Linked DNA regions of Homo sapiens: region 1 is linked to region 2. Evidence: promoter capture Hi-C in 16 types of primary human blood cells and fetal thymus (Javierre and others, 2016). All regions are on one chromosome and are shown on one strand. Each heading gives the region's core, a stretch centred on a gene start or on the middle of the fragment in contact. The rest is flanking DNA. Distances are from core to core; before and after follow the strand shown.

What was found. Contacts are between HindIII fragments. The CHiCAGO score rates a contact against its expected background, and 5 or more counts as called.
Region 1: a contact is called between a fragment that was not itself captured here and the fragment with the promoter of SQOR in region 2, in 1 of 17 cell types (M0 macrophages). The highest score is 6.1, in M0 macrophages.

What each region holds. Positions count from the first base shown.
Region 1 is chr15:49,054,463-49,061,034 of GRCh38, reverse strand. No RefSeq gene overlaps it. Among named protein-coding and RNA genes, the nearest start is that of SECISBP2L, 11 kb to the right of the region's middle. The HindIII fragment of the contact is 663 bases long and covers 4,903-5,565 here.
Region 2 is chr15:45,633,779-45,640,336 of GRCh38, reverse strand. SQOR (sulfide quinone oxidoreductase) reads right to left here and starts at 5,308. Exons shown (of 10, transcript NM_021199.4): 1 at 5,229-5,308. RefSeq lists enhancers at 2,538-2,597, 2,628-2,707, 4,537-4,586, 4,617-4,706, 5,169-6,164 and a silencer at 5,187-5,356. The HindIII fragment of the contact is 3,121 bases long and covers 2,916-6,036 here.

The DNA of each region.
Region 1 (6,572 bases), core at 3,985-6,484, 3.4 Mb before region 2:
GAATGTTTTCAGAGATGGTATCTCTGCTAGTTTTAGTTATTTAGCACCTGTTATTTTCCTTCTGAGACTGGCGATATCTTGCTTATCATTGGAAGCCTTAAGGAAACTTGATGGCACATCAAGGTTAACAAGAATTACACATTTACAGGTTGAGCTTCGTACATTTTGATTCTAAGAATCAGGGCCTGCTGATGAAGAAAGCGCCTACTGGTTCAAAAAGGACATTCCAGAAAGAATGTTAGGTTTGGGGAGCTGTGGATATGAGTCACTGACATGAAAAATCTAGATAGCTTGTTTGCAAAGATTTCTAAAGACAGAGTAAAAAAAAATTGCGTTTTTTTTTTTTTTAAATATTAAAAATAGAGACAGGGTTTCACCATGTTGGCCAGGCTGGTCTAGAGTTCCTGGCCTCAAGTGATCTGCCAGCCTAGGCCACCCAAAGTGCTGGGATTACAGGCATGAGCCACCATGCCTGGCCAGAAAACATTGAGTTTTGAAGGATATTTTTCAATTTCAGGTTGTATAGTACTTCTAAATGAAGGGGGACTATCAAAGATTCATAGCTTTCACTATCATAAGACAGCATCCTCTAGAGAAAGATTGAGATTTGGAATAGTTCATGAAAATAATATGATAGGCCAGACACAGTGGCTCATACCTCTAATCCCAGCACTTTGAGGGGCCGAGGCTGGTGGATCACTTGAGCTCAGGAGTTTGAGACCGCCTGGGCAACATTACAAAACCCTGTCTTTACCAAAATACAAAATTTAGCCCAGTGTGGTGGCATGAGCCTGTAGTTCCAGCTACTGGGAAGCTGAGGCAGGAGAATCCATCGGGCCTAGGAGGTTGCAGTGAGCCAATCTTGGCTCACAGTCTTGAGCTAAGATTGTGCCACTGCACTCCAGCCTGGGTGACAGAATGAGACATTGTCTCAAAAATAAAAAAGAAAACCATCTTAAGGACATCATAATAAATCTGGGAAGTTATTTCCTGTTTTTAGTTGGAATGGTCTGAAGACCTCACTGCCATAAAAATGAATGTCATGTCCAATTTTTATCTAGTTCTCCAAGTCCATTTATGCATTTATTCATTCTTTTTCAACTCACTCTTACCTAAACTAGATTGTTTACAAGACAGCTAATTATGTAGTTGATCTTACCATCCAAAAATCATTTTTTGATGTTATCGTCTTCTGTTTTCATTTTACTTACCTGCGTCTAATATTCTCAAAGGAGCTAGGGAGTTTTCCGTTTAAATCCACCATTTAATTACCTGTCTTCCTTTTTCTGGTAAACATCTGACTCAGCTCTAAAGGCAAGCTCATTTGTTCATTCAAAAAACACTGTTGAGTAATTTCTCAAGGAGTTTATGCTCTTAGAAAGGAAATAATTACATAAATAATTATACACAGTACACAAATAATTTCAGGCAGGATATGGCACAACAAGCTAGAGGAATTTTGAGGAGGATCTGTTTCATCCAGGAAATGGAGGAAATGATTTTCAATACAAAAAAGACACACTAAGTAGAAAAAAAATGTGTGAACAAAGTCAGGGAGGTGGGAAAGCACAGAATACATTTGGGATAGGCAGTGAGCCATCAATGAAGTTTGTAGATTGAATAAGGTGCATGCTCAGAGCTTCCATTTGGAATAGCAATAATAAATGTGCTCTGAGGGCTTGCTATGTGCTAGGCAGTGTTCCAAGCACTGGAAACATCGAGCAGTGGGCACAACAAACAAAATCCCTGCCTTCATGGAGCTTATATTTGAGATAAAAATGACAGTCAATAAACAAAACAGACATACAGCATTTTAGATGATGATAAGTGCTACGGAGAAAAAGCTGGAAAGGAGAGGCAGTGTGTGTGTTTGCATGCTGTTTTTTTTTTCTTTTTTTCTTTTTTAAAAATTTCAATAGCTTTGAGGGGTACAAGTGGTTTTTGGTTACGTGGATGAATTATACAGTGGTGAAGCCTGAGATTTTAGTGCACGCATCACCCAAGTAGTGTACATTATACCCAATATGTAGTTTTTTAAATCCCTCACCCCCTCTTCTACCTTCCTCCTTCTGAGTCTCCATAGTCCATTAGATCGCTCTGTATTGCATCCTGCTTTAAAGAAGGTGGTCAGAAAAGGCCTCACTCCAAGGTCACATTTAAGAAAAGGCCTGAAGTGAGGGCTTGAGCCATGTGGGTTAACTGGGGGTAGGGAGTTCCTGCCAGTGGAAGCAGCAAGGCCAAGGGATCTCAAGATGAGAGTGTGCTTAGAATGACAAGGGAACAGCAAGGAGTGAGCAAGTGAATAGCAAGTGAGTGAGGAATAGGAATTAAGGCCAGAGGCATGGTAGGGGCTTGATCATAGGGACTTCAATGGCCCCTCTAAGGACTTGGGCTTTTACTCTGAGATGGGAAGCTCCACTGGAGCTCCTTGGAAGAGAGGAGTGACATGATCTGACTTAAAATTTTATGGCTGACTATGGCTGATTGGGAGATTATCTGCTCCAGAGATTCTGACTTAATCGGTCTAAGAGGGGACTGAATATTCTAGCTTTAAGAGTGCCACAGATTGAGAACCACTCCTCTAGGGCTTGCAATGTGTTCTTGCATTCGTTACCTCAACTCGAACCCCTCAACAATCCCATGCATTGTGCAGATGAGGAAACTGAGGCCCAGGGAAGCTTAAGCGACTTTTGAGGGCACATGGCCTGAAATGGGTATAGATAAAATTTAAACCCAAGTTATCAAGTCTTAGTCTAGTAGTGCTCTTTCCATCATAACACTTATATTATCAATGGAATCTTTTTTCTTATGAGTTTGCCACTAGTTTTTAGGAATTTTGGTGGATTCATCTTATATGCTGAAAACATAAAGATATTATCTCTAGTAATTTTGATTCATACTATCTTTACTCAGGTTTGATTCCATGGTCTGTTCTGTCACCCTAACCACCCTCTTGCCATTAGATCATGTTACTTTCCTGCAAATAATGAGAGATACATACTCCAGTTCAGCTGTGCCCTGGCCTCAGCATTGGCCAAAATTTGCTTTTCAATTTCACCTTTAGCATTGGCCTTTGGAAGGTCATATTGTCAAATTTCTATTTCACCTTCTGGCAAGTCTAAACTGGGTATGGCCTCCCCATCATGTGATCTTACTGGGTAACCATTATATCTAATCAGCATAACTATGTAAATTATAAGAGCAAAGTATGTTAGTCAGAGTTAGTGTTAATATATGGATATGCACTTTCAAATATAGGTAAGCATTTTGGATGTATTTCCTCTGTTGAAATTCTATTAATTGTTTAATATAAACTTCAGTAATAAAGGTAATTGTGAAAATTGTTAATTTTATGCAAAAATGTAGAACTTTCAAGTAGTTAGGTAAGAAAATAATTGAAAATTAATACAATTATACAAAAGATGGGCTACATAAATTTAGAAAGAAAATTACATCCTTTTGAACCACTAATATTCATACAATGTAATTAATAATAAAAGGCATGCAGAAATAAACGCATATTAGAAATTAAAATTTTAAATGAGAATAACAATCTTAGGTGTGCATCTGAAAATATCCACAAAGCATCTTCTTCAAGCACAGCACAAACTTCAGTTTCTAGGGGGCTTCAATGAAATGGAATCATGTCCATTGACCAAATCTTCAAGTCCAGCAGCAGAAAAGCGGATAAAACTTAGTTTCTATTAGAAAGGAAGGGAAGCTTAATAACAGATGATGACATCACTATCAGAAGTATCCTATACTAGCAGAGCTAGCCAAAAATAATCTTGTTCCTCATCTGACTTTGGTTAATAGTGGACTTTAATATTTAAAATTGCAATGTGCAGTATCATGACTGTAGGAACACTAGTAATGCTAAGAAATTGTTCCTGCATTATTTAAGCTTCTGAAGTTTGACTACTGCCAAATAAGAAATGATGTTTAACCTTCTCATGTTATATTTTTAAGGATATGTTATTAATATATGTTCTAAAATTGTATGAGACTCCTAAAATTCTGATATGTCTTGGTATATGTTATCAGTCATAGTTATAGTTAGTATGTTTAATTATTGTAGGTCACAGAAATAACCAAATTTCCTTGTCAATTGTGTCTTTAACCGTGACCATTTTAAGTCTTGCTTCCAGTTAATTGCTTAATTCTGGTGCATTTTCTGAAAGCTATTTATAAGCAACTAAAATCCTAGAGTATTGTGCCTTCAAGGAGGCTCATGGAAAGGATGGAAAGGACCCTGAGAAGCACTCTTGAATACACGGTTCTGATAACTTTAGGATCATATAATTTGGACTGGGTAGGAATTCCTAGAACTCTCATGAAGAGACTGACTGATTCATAAAACTGCTAAACCAAGCAGGACAAGAATTGATTGAATATCAAGAAAAAATTTTGCCAAATGTTATGCAAAATGAGCCAGTACTGAAATTGTTAAGAAATTCAACTTAAATGAACTCCATGGCCCAAGGCAAATTACCTATGATAACAGATTTAACAAACAGTGCTGTGCAACAAAATCGCTATTTAAGAATGATAAAAATCCAATGTTAAGTGTGGACTCATGGAGAGCCTGGATGGCTGCCTGGCCCTTCCTGAGTCCTTATAGCTTCCATTATTAAAAGCTGTATACCCTATGACTTATTAGGAAAGAGGTAAAATGATTTAAATTATGTGTGTGTGTGTGTGTGTGTGTGTGTGTGTGTGTGTGGTGACTATTCTAAACTGCTAAAATGGCTTATGATCAATGTTTAGTTTGTCAAATCCATAATTAAGGGAAAATATCAAAATTTGGGGTACATTTCTGCTACATGATGAGCCTTTTGAACATTTATGAGGGCATTTCATTCACTTGCCATTCTACGCACATTTTCTGATTGTATAGAAGCTTTCCCATGCAAGAAGGCCAATGCTATAACAGTAGCTAAAAGGTTATTTTAAAATGTGTTTCCCTCATGGGGAATTCTGAAGAAATCTCCAGTGATGGAGGTACTTGTTTCACTGGACAGGTTGTAGAAAAGTTAAATAAAGTATTATAGCATTAGGCAAAGCTAAATGAATCGACTGGATTGCCTTGATCCAAAGTATTGAAGATTGATGGCAATCAGATCCACTTCCAGAGGAAAACATAAGTTGACCCCTTATGAAACAGTCACTGGAAGGCCTATCCTCCTAATAATAGAACATTATATCTCTTCCATTCCTGTACTCTGATATGACTAATTGCCGCAAGGCTTTAATGCATTATGCCAAAGTGTATTTTAGTCAGGCAAAGGAAATTTTAATGACCCATTGACTCAGGATAATTAAAACATTGATGATATAGAACCAAGATATTGGGTCTTCTGGAAGTGAAGAGAAAGACTGCCCTTGCCACACACACTGCAGCAAAACTTTGGGACCGCAAACCTTGTATCCATAGTCTCATAACTCTAAACAGCCCTTTCAGACTCAGGACTGTATACCAGGGTCCCCCTAACAGGTACTTGTCCATGGGCTGTTAGGAACCAGGCTGTACAGCAGGAGGTGAGCAGTGGGCAAGCAAGTGAAGCTTCATCTGTATTTACAGCTGCTCCCCATCTCTGGCATTACCACTTGAGCTCCACCTCCTGTCAGATCAGCAGCAGCATTAGATTCTCATAGGAGCGTGAACCCTATTGTGAACTGTGCACACAAGGGATCTAGGTTGCACGCTCCTTATGAGAATCTAATGCCTGATGATCTGTTACTGTCTCCCATCATCCCCAGATGGAACTGTCTAGTTCAATGGTCCCCAACCTTTTGGGCATCAGGGACTCGTTTCATGGAAGACAATTTTTCCATGGATGGGGAGGAGAGGAAGGGGCAGATGGTTTTGAGATGAAACTGTTCCACCTCAGATCACCAGGCATTAGATTGTCATAAGGAGCGTACAACCTAGATCCCTCCCGTGGGCAGTTCACAATAAGGTTCGCTCTGCTATGAGAATCTAATGCTGTTACTAATCTGAGCTTGCATGTCTGCTGCTCACCTCCTGCTGTGCAGCCTGGTTCCTAACAGACCACAGACTGTACCTGTCCACAGCCTGGGGTTGGGGACCCCTGGTTTAGTTGCAGGAAAACAAGCTCAAGGCTCCCACTGATTCTATGTTATGGTGAGTTGTGTAATTATTTCATTATATATTACAATGTAATAATAACAGAAATAAAGTACACAATAAATGTAATGCACTTGAATTATCCCAAAATCATCCCCCACCCCCAGGTTCATGGAAAAATTGTCTTCCACAAAACCAGTCCCTGGTGCCAAAAAGGTTGGGGACTGCTACTGTATACCTATTGGAGACCTTAAGGTAAAGTTAACTGGGAATTTTCTCCCTGGAAGCAGACAGAATCCTAGACATGAACAAGTTTCTCAAGATCATGGATCAAGGACCTGCCATCCTGTGACGCTTACATCTTCTTGCTTATGCCTCTATGAACAATAGAACTGGAAAAGGTGCTTTGGGTGTACCCATAGGGTATACTTTTATGTGTGGAGGATTTTACAGCTAACCCTATACAGGGGAAACCTTATGCTTT
Region 2 (6,558 bases), core at 4,059-6,558:
GGATCAGATTGGGTGGCATCAAAGGTCCCCTGCTTCTCTAAAACTTTGCTATCCTCTAAATGAGAAAAGGAAAATGGAAGTTCACAAGCAGGCTTTCAAATGGGGACGCTTGTTCTAATAACTCCTTAGATTGATCAGAGATGTGAATTTTTGTGGCAAAGAATAACAAGGCTTTAATAAGCAGGTCTGGAACATAATTAGAATGGAAACCATTCCTCTCAATCTCTCCCCGCAAGTCCCCAAATCATTTGTGGAAGTGTTGATATGTGACAGGCATTGTGCTATGCACTTTACGTAATTACTCACAAAAACCAGAGAGGTGGGAATTATTATTCCCATTTTATAAGTGAGGAAATGGAGATTGTAAGACCATGAGATAGTCATTTACCATTTTGAGTCCATTTCCCTGAGTGTAAAATAAGTGGAGGTGTCTAGTTGCCATTAAAGACCTTTCTTACTCAATGATTCAAAACAAGCTTAGATTTGATCACCTAGACCTTGAAAGGCTCATGATTTTCCTCCAAACTCAGATGGCCCCTCATCCATCTCAAGCATCATTTATGTGCTCACAGAAACACAAAACCACATTTACTAGACCCAGCACTGTCTTGAAGAGCTCTCACAATCTATACTCCAAACATGGTGGTTGTTAAAACACATCATTTTCCTATGGAGACATCATGGGCTACCTTAGAACAAATAGCCAAAGATATAAGAAAGTTATCATAGAGTGAAATCACCACAATCCCCACTTCCAGAAGCAGCCCTCCCTCCCAGAAGTCAGGAATTGGTACCAGGATACAGACATAGCCATTTTCTCTCCATTCATGTAGCTAGGGCCAGAGCTGCTGGTTCCCAGCTAGGTGGCATGAAAGTTCCCTGAGGGCTGGGCTAGGGCCAAAACATGGAGATTCATTATGATCAGAAGGGAGTCACCCCATGGTATTTAAGGATGATCATAACATCATCACCCATCACCCACCATACATTTACAAAGTACTTACTATGTACATGGCACAACAGCTAACCTAGGTCACTTGCTGAAGAGGCCAAGTTTTTCTTTTCCTAACAGTCAAAATCATGAAGCTGAATATGGCTTTAACAACTTCAGGCAAGATCCTAGGGACCACACAGGGTGTCTGTAGAAGGAAAGTACATGGGAGACTCTTCTGCATAGGTTGGGTAAGAGATCCTAAGAGCAAGTGATGGACATGTCGGGATCATGACTTAAAAGAGATGGTGCCTAGTTGTAGCCATTTTTTTTAAACCTATTGTCCATTTGGTAGAACCAGTTGTATTAATTTTCTAGGGCTGCCATAACAAAACACTATAGACTAGATGAAGTCTAGAGAACAGAAATTTATTTTCTCAAAGTTCTGGAGATTGAAAGTCCAAGACCTCAGTGCTGATGAGACTGGTTTCTCCTGGGATCTCTCTCCCTGGTTTGCAGATGGCCACCTTCTCAGTGTGCCTTTGCGTGGCCTTTTCTCTGTGCACATGTGCTCCTGACGAGTCATCTTCTTATAAGGATACTATTCATATTGGATTAGGGCTCCACCTTAATGACCTAACTTAATTTTCCTTTTTTTTTTTTCTTTCTTTCTTTTTTTGAGACAGAGTCTTGCTCTGTTGCGCAGGCTAGAATGCAGTGGCATGATAATCTTGGCTCAATGCAACTTCCTCCTCTCCGGTTCAAGCAAGTCTCATGCCTCAGCCCCCTGAGTAGTTGGAATTACAGGTGCACACTACCCCACCCAGCTAATATTTTGAATTTTTAGTAGAGACGGGGTTCCTCTATGTTGGCCAGGCTGGCCTCAAACTCCCAGCCTCAAGCGATCTGCTTACCTCGGCCTCCCAAAGTGCTGGGATTACAGGCGTGAGCCACCGTGCCTGGCTAATTATTCTTTTATTGAGACAAGGTCTTGCTATGTTGCTCAGGCTAGCCTCGAACTTCTGAGCTCAAGCAGTTCTCCCACCTCAGCCTCCCAAGTAGCTGGGGCTACAGGTGCTCACCACCACTTCTAACTAAGGCACTATCTCCTAATACAGTCACATTCTAAGATCCTGGGGGCTAGGGTTTCAATATATGAATTTGGTGAGTCCATAACACCAGTATTTGCCCTTCCCAAAGTTACAGACATAGATAGTCCCAGTGTGTTCTAAATTTCCGAGGGTTTTTTTGTTCTGTTTTGTTTTTTTCCACAAAGTTCTCTACCTCCTGTCCCAATTTAGCACTTTCTCAATGTAAATCACAGGGATGGTTGGCTAGATCTACTTTTCTTTATTATTATTACCACCTACATCTGGGGATTACAAAGATTTTTAAGGCTGGGATTAAGAAGCAACTAGTTGGCTTCCAGCCAGGTCTGGGCAGCTTTCCATAAGCTATCCAAACTGCTCCTATTTACCAAGTCTTCAGAGTCAAAGAGGAGTTATATAGTAGATAGTGGAGCAGGGAAACGTGAAAGGAGAAGAAAAAAGTACATCTATGCCCAGAAATGCCTTGTCATGGGTCCGTCTCCATTCTTTATAAGACATTTCCTGTGTTACAACACATCGGATTAACAAAGCTAGACACAGGCAACATGGAGGAGAAACTGTTCTGCAAAGGAATCCGGTTTCCTTTCAACATTCAGTTTCATTTTCACTGGCAGAACACCAGCCACACAGACACGCACACACAGACCCTGGGCCCTGACTGACATTTCAAACACCCCCGTTCCAAATGTGTTTATATATTTTTCCAGCCAGAAAAAAAGCCCCAAATTTAAACAAAGTCATTTCCCAAACCACCAGCTGTCTCCTTAATGAATTTTGTTTTTTGGACTTAGTCACAAGCAACCCTTTCTGACCCACTTATTCATTCAATAAATAATGAGTACCTCCCCAGGCTTGGGGATATAAGGCCATAAGCTTGGGAGGGATACAAATAAGTTCTGATAAATGGTATCTACTTCAGCCCTCTACACTAAGTGCAGTGCTGGGTGCCTTAAATACTTGGGAAGGTGTTATTATCTCCACTGTACAATGAAGAAGCTGAGGCGAAAAGAAATTCAAAAGCCAAAGTTAAGCTGGGTGTGGTGGTTGCTTTGGGAAGCAGACAAGGGCAGATCACTTGAGGTCAGCAGTTCAAGACCAGCCTAGCCAATATGGTGAAACCCTGTCTCTACCAAAAAATACAAAAATTAGCCAGGTGTGGTGGTGGGTGGCTGGTGTAATCCCAGCTACTAGGGATGCTGAGGCAGGCGAATCACTCGAACCTGCGAGGAGGTTGCAGTGAGCAGAGATCACCTCACTGTACTCCAGCTTAGGCGACACAGCAAGACCATGTCTCAAAAAAAAAAAAAAGCCAAGGTTACAATGGGCCTTGGAAATGTCAATGGAAGTGTCAAGCCCAGAAGCCAAGTCATTGGGTCAGTGCCCTTTCTACTATCAGAGGATCTTAACCTGGACCCAAAAACTTAGATGGAAAAGTATTTTACATCTTTATTTTTACGGATATTTAATATTTACATCTTTTATTTCTCTAGTATCTAACTGAAATTTAACATTTACTTCAATTATGTATGTAGCCAACAAACCACAGCAGTATTGGCAATACTAAGACTTTGTCACCAATAGAAATCACAGATATTGGCCGTGCGCAGTGGCTCATGCCTGTAATCCCAGAACTTTGGGAGTCCAAGGTGGGCGTATCACAAGGTCAAGAGATCGAGACCATCCTGGACAATATGGTGAAATCCTGTCTCTACTAAAAATACAAAAATTAGCTGGGTGTGGTGGCACACACCTGTAGTCCCATCTACTCGGGAGGCTGAGGCAGGAGAATCACTTGAACCCAGCAGGCGGAGGTTGCATTGAACCGAGATCGCGCCACTGCACTCCAGCCTGGTGACAGAGTGAGACTCCGTCTCAAAAAAAAAAAAAAAAGAAGAAAGAAATTACAGATATTTTCTTATATTACAAGTATTACCTATATCTTGAAATAATTGTTTATGTTCTTTACTACTTCAAAATTATGGTAACTATTTAATCCACTGCTAGATCTTGTTATTTAATAACCTTGTTATTAAATAACGCATTCGTTTTTTAAAGACATATATATTACCATATCATAAATTCTTTTAATGTTTTGACATGTGTTTTGCAATTGGTTTCCTTTATAATACTCTTCCTTTTGTTTTATACCTTTAAAAAAGCATTGTTCTGGTCCAGCGCGGTGGCTCACTCGTGTAATCCCAGCACTTTGGAAGGCCGAAGTGTGCGGATCATTTGAGGCCAGGAGTTCGAGACCAGCTGGGCAACATGGTGAAACCCGCCTCTACTACAAATACTAAAATTAGCCAGGTGTGCTGCGCCTGTAATCCCAGTTACTCGGCAGGCTGAGGCAGGAGAATCGCTTGAACCCGGGAGGTGGAGGTGGCAGTGAGCCGAGATCGCGCCACTGCACTCCAGCTTGGGCGACAGAGCAAGACTCTGTCTCAAAAAAAAGTATTGTTCTGAGAGTCTTTAGCCTTCCCAGAAATGCCAAAGGGGTGCACAGCACAAAAATGGAACAGAGCCCTGCATTATAGCAATGGGCAGCGCAGGCAAAGCCAGGGGCTCTGTTCAGCGTCTTTGAGCAAAAAGCCAGGTTGGAATTTTGATAAATAAAAGAGACAGATGAAGAGGAAAGGAAATGAGCCCAGATTCCACCAGAAGACCCCTTCTCCCTTTCCACCAATTCCTGTTCAGCAGGTGCCCTAAATCCTCTCCCCTTCAGGTTTCAGCTGCAGCCGACCCCTCGAGCGCCCCCTCTGTCCCACGCGCAGTGTCGGTGGATGACTGTGTCAATCCCTGGCCCCCGGACGCCGAGCACCCACTCCCGCTCCAGGACGGTGCCGAGTGACAGTCAACAGGTGGAAGGCGCCAGAAACGTCCACACACCAAGACCACGGATACTTCGGTTTTTAAGCACCCCTCGCGGGTTGGCCTCTCCGCGGCCCTGAGGCTCTGACACTCTGAGAAGGAAGCAAGAGTCCCAAGACCCGGGTTCCAGACAAGGGCAGCAAGAGCTGCAGGTGTCCGGAGTTGAGGAAGCAAAGTTTGGGGCGCGGCGCACCGGGTCTGCGGAGTCCCAGCTGCGGAAACCGAGTTAAGCTAACAAACAGCCTCAGTGGTGGTCGCTGTCCCCGCCCAGTCTCCCTCCGCTGGCCCAGGGCCAAAGATCGGCCGCGGATGCCTCTTACCCGGGCGTGAGCGGAGCCTTCGGTCACTGCGTTGGCGCAGCAAAAACCTTCGCTCCCTTCTGGGTCTCAAGGCCTGGACTGGGGCCCCGCCCGCCTGCCATCCGGGCGGAGGCTGGAGGCGGGGAAAGCGAGGCTCCCCCCAGGAAAGGTCCCGAAAAGTCCCGCCGTGCCCCGCCCGGCGCCGCAGCCCAGGCACCATGGTCAGTGAACACACCAGGGCGTTGAGCGCTCACGGGGCACAGAACCAGGAACAAGCGTCCATCCGGCCTGGGGTGCTGCCGGCTGGACAGACTCGCCCCTTGCGCGCCCTGAAGGGCGGCCCCGCAGGCTGGGGCGCACAGGCGGAGGACACCGAGGCCACCTGACGCTTCCGCCCCTGGGTGCCAACAGCGTTTTGTAATCAGGGCAGGCAAAAGCGGAGGCGGGGCGCTGTGCAGAGAGGCTCTGGCTGTTCCCACTGGGTCCTCCTATGTGCCCTGGGCTTCTCACCGGGTTCACACAGCTGCCCAGAAACACAGGTATTCCCGCGCTCATTTCACAGAGAAGGTGACCGAGGTTCAGCTTTGGTGTGCGCTGGAGCCCTTCCTTCAAAACGCGCAGGCAGGGGTAAGCTGGCTTCCAGCCACTGGCCTCCACAGTGTCCCATCCCATATTCATGACTGGACATTTTCAGTTGGCGGCTCTTTCCAGGTTGATGTAAAGTCTCAGTGAGTGGTTCTCCACCATATCAGATTCAGTAACCCTTTTTACAATAAATACAGGGTGTCCCAAAAGTCTCATAACCTGAGAAGTGCAAGTGCTAGAAGCTTTCAAAAAAACAAACAAAAATAAACCCTTGAAAGTTTGAGTTTCTTTTACACTTATTTGGTTTTATGAATTTTGAATATATATATATATATATATATATATAGTTGTTGTTGTTGTTTTTTGAAACAGAGTCTCACTGTGTTGCCCAGGCTGGAGCGCAGTGAGTAGAGCAATCTCGGCTCACTGCAACATCTGCCTCATGGGTTCAACCAATTCTGGTGTCTCAGCCTCCTGAGTAGCTGGGACTACAGGTGTGTGCCACCATGCCCGGCTAATTTTTGTATGTTTCAGTAGAGATGAGGTTTCACCATGTTGGCCAAGCTGGTCTCAAACTCCTGGCCTCAAGCGATCTGCCCTCCTGGGCCTCCCAAAGTGCTGGGATTACAGGCGTGAGCCACCATGCCCAGCCTTGAATATTATTTTTTTAAATGTTTTCAACTGATACTTTCTATCTTTAATCAAAGAGACTGACTGTATCTATGGCAAAATCATCATGAACAATACAATACAAACGCAGACTGTA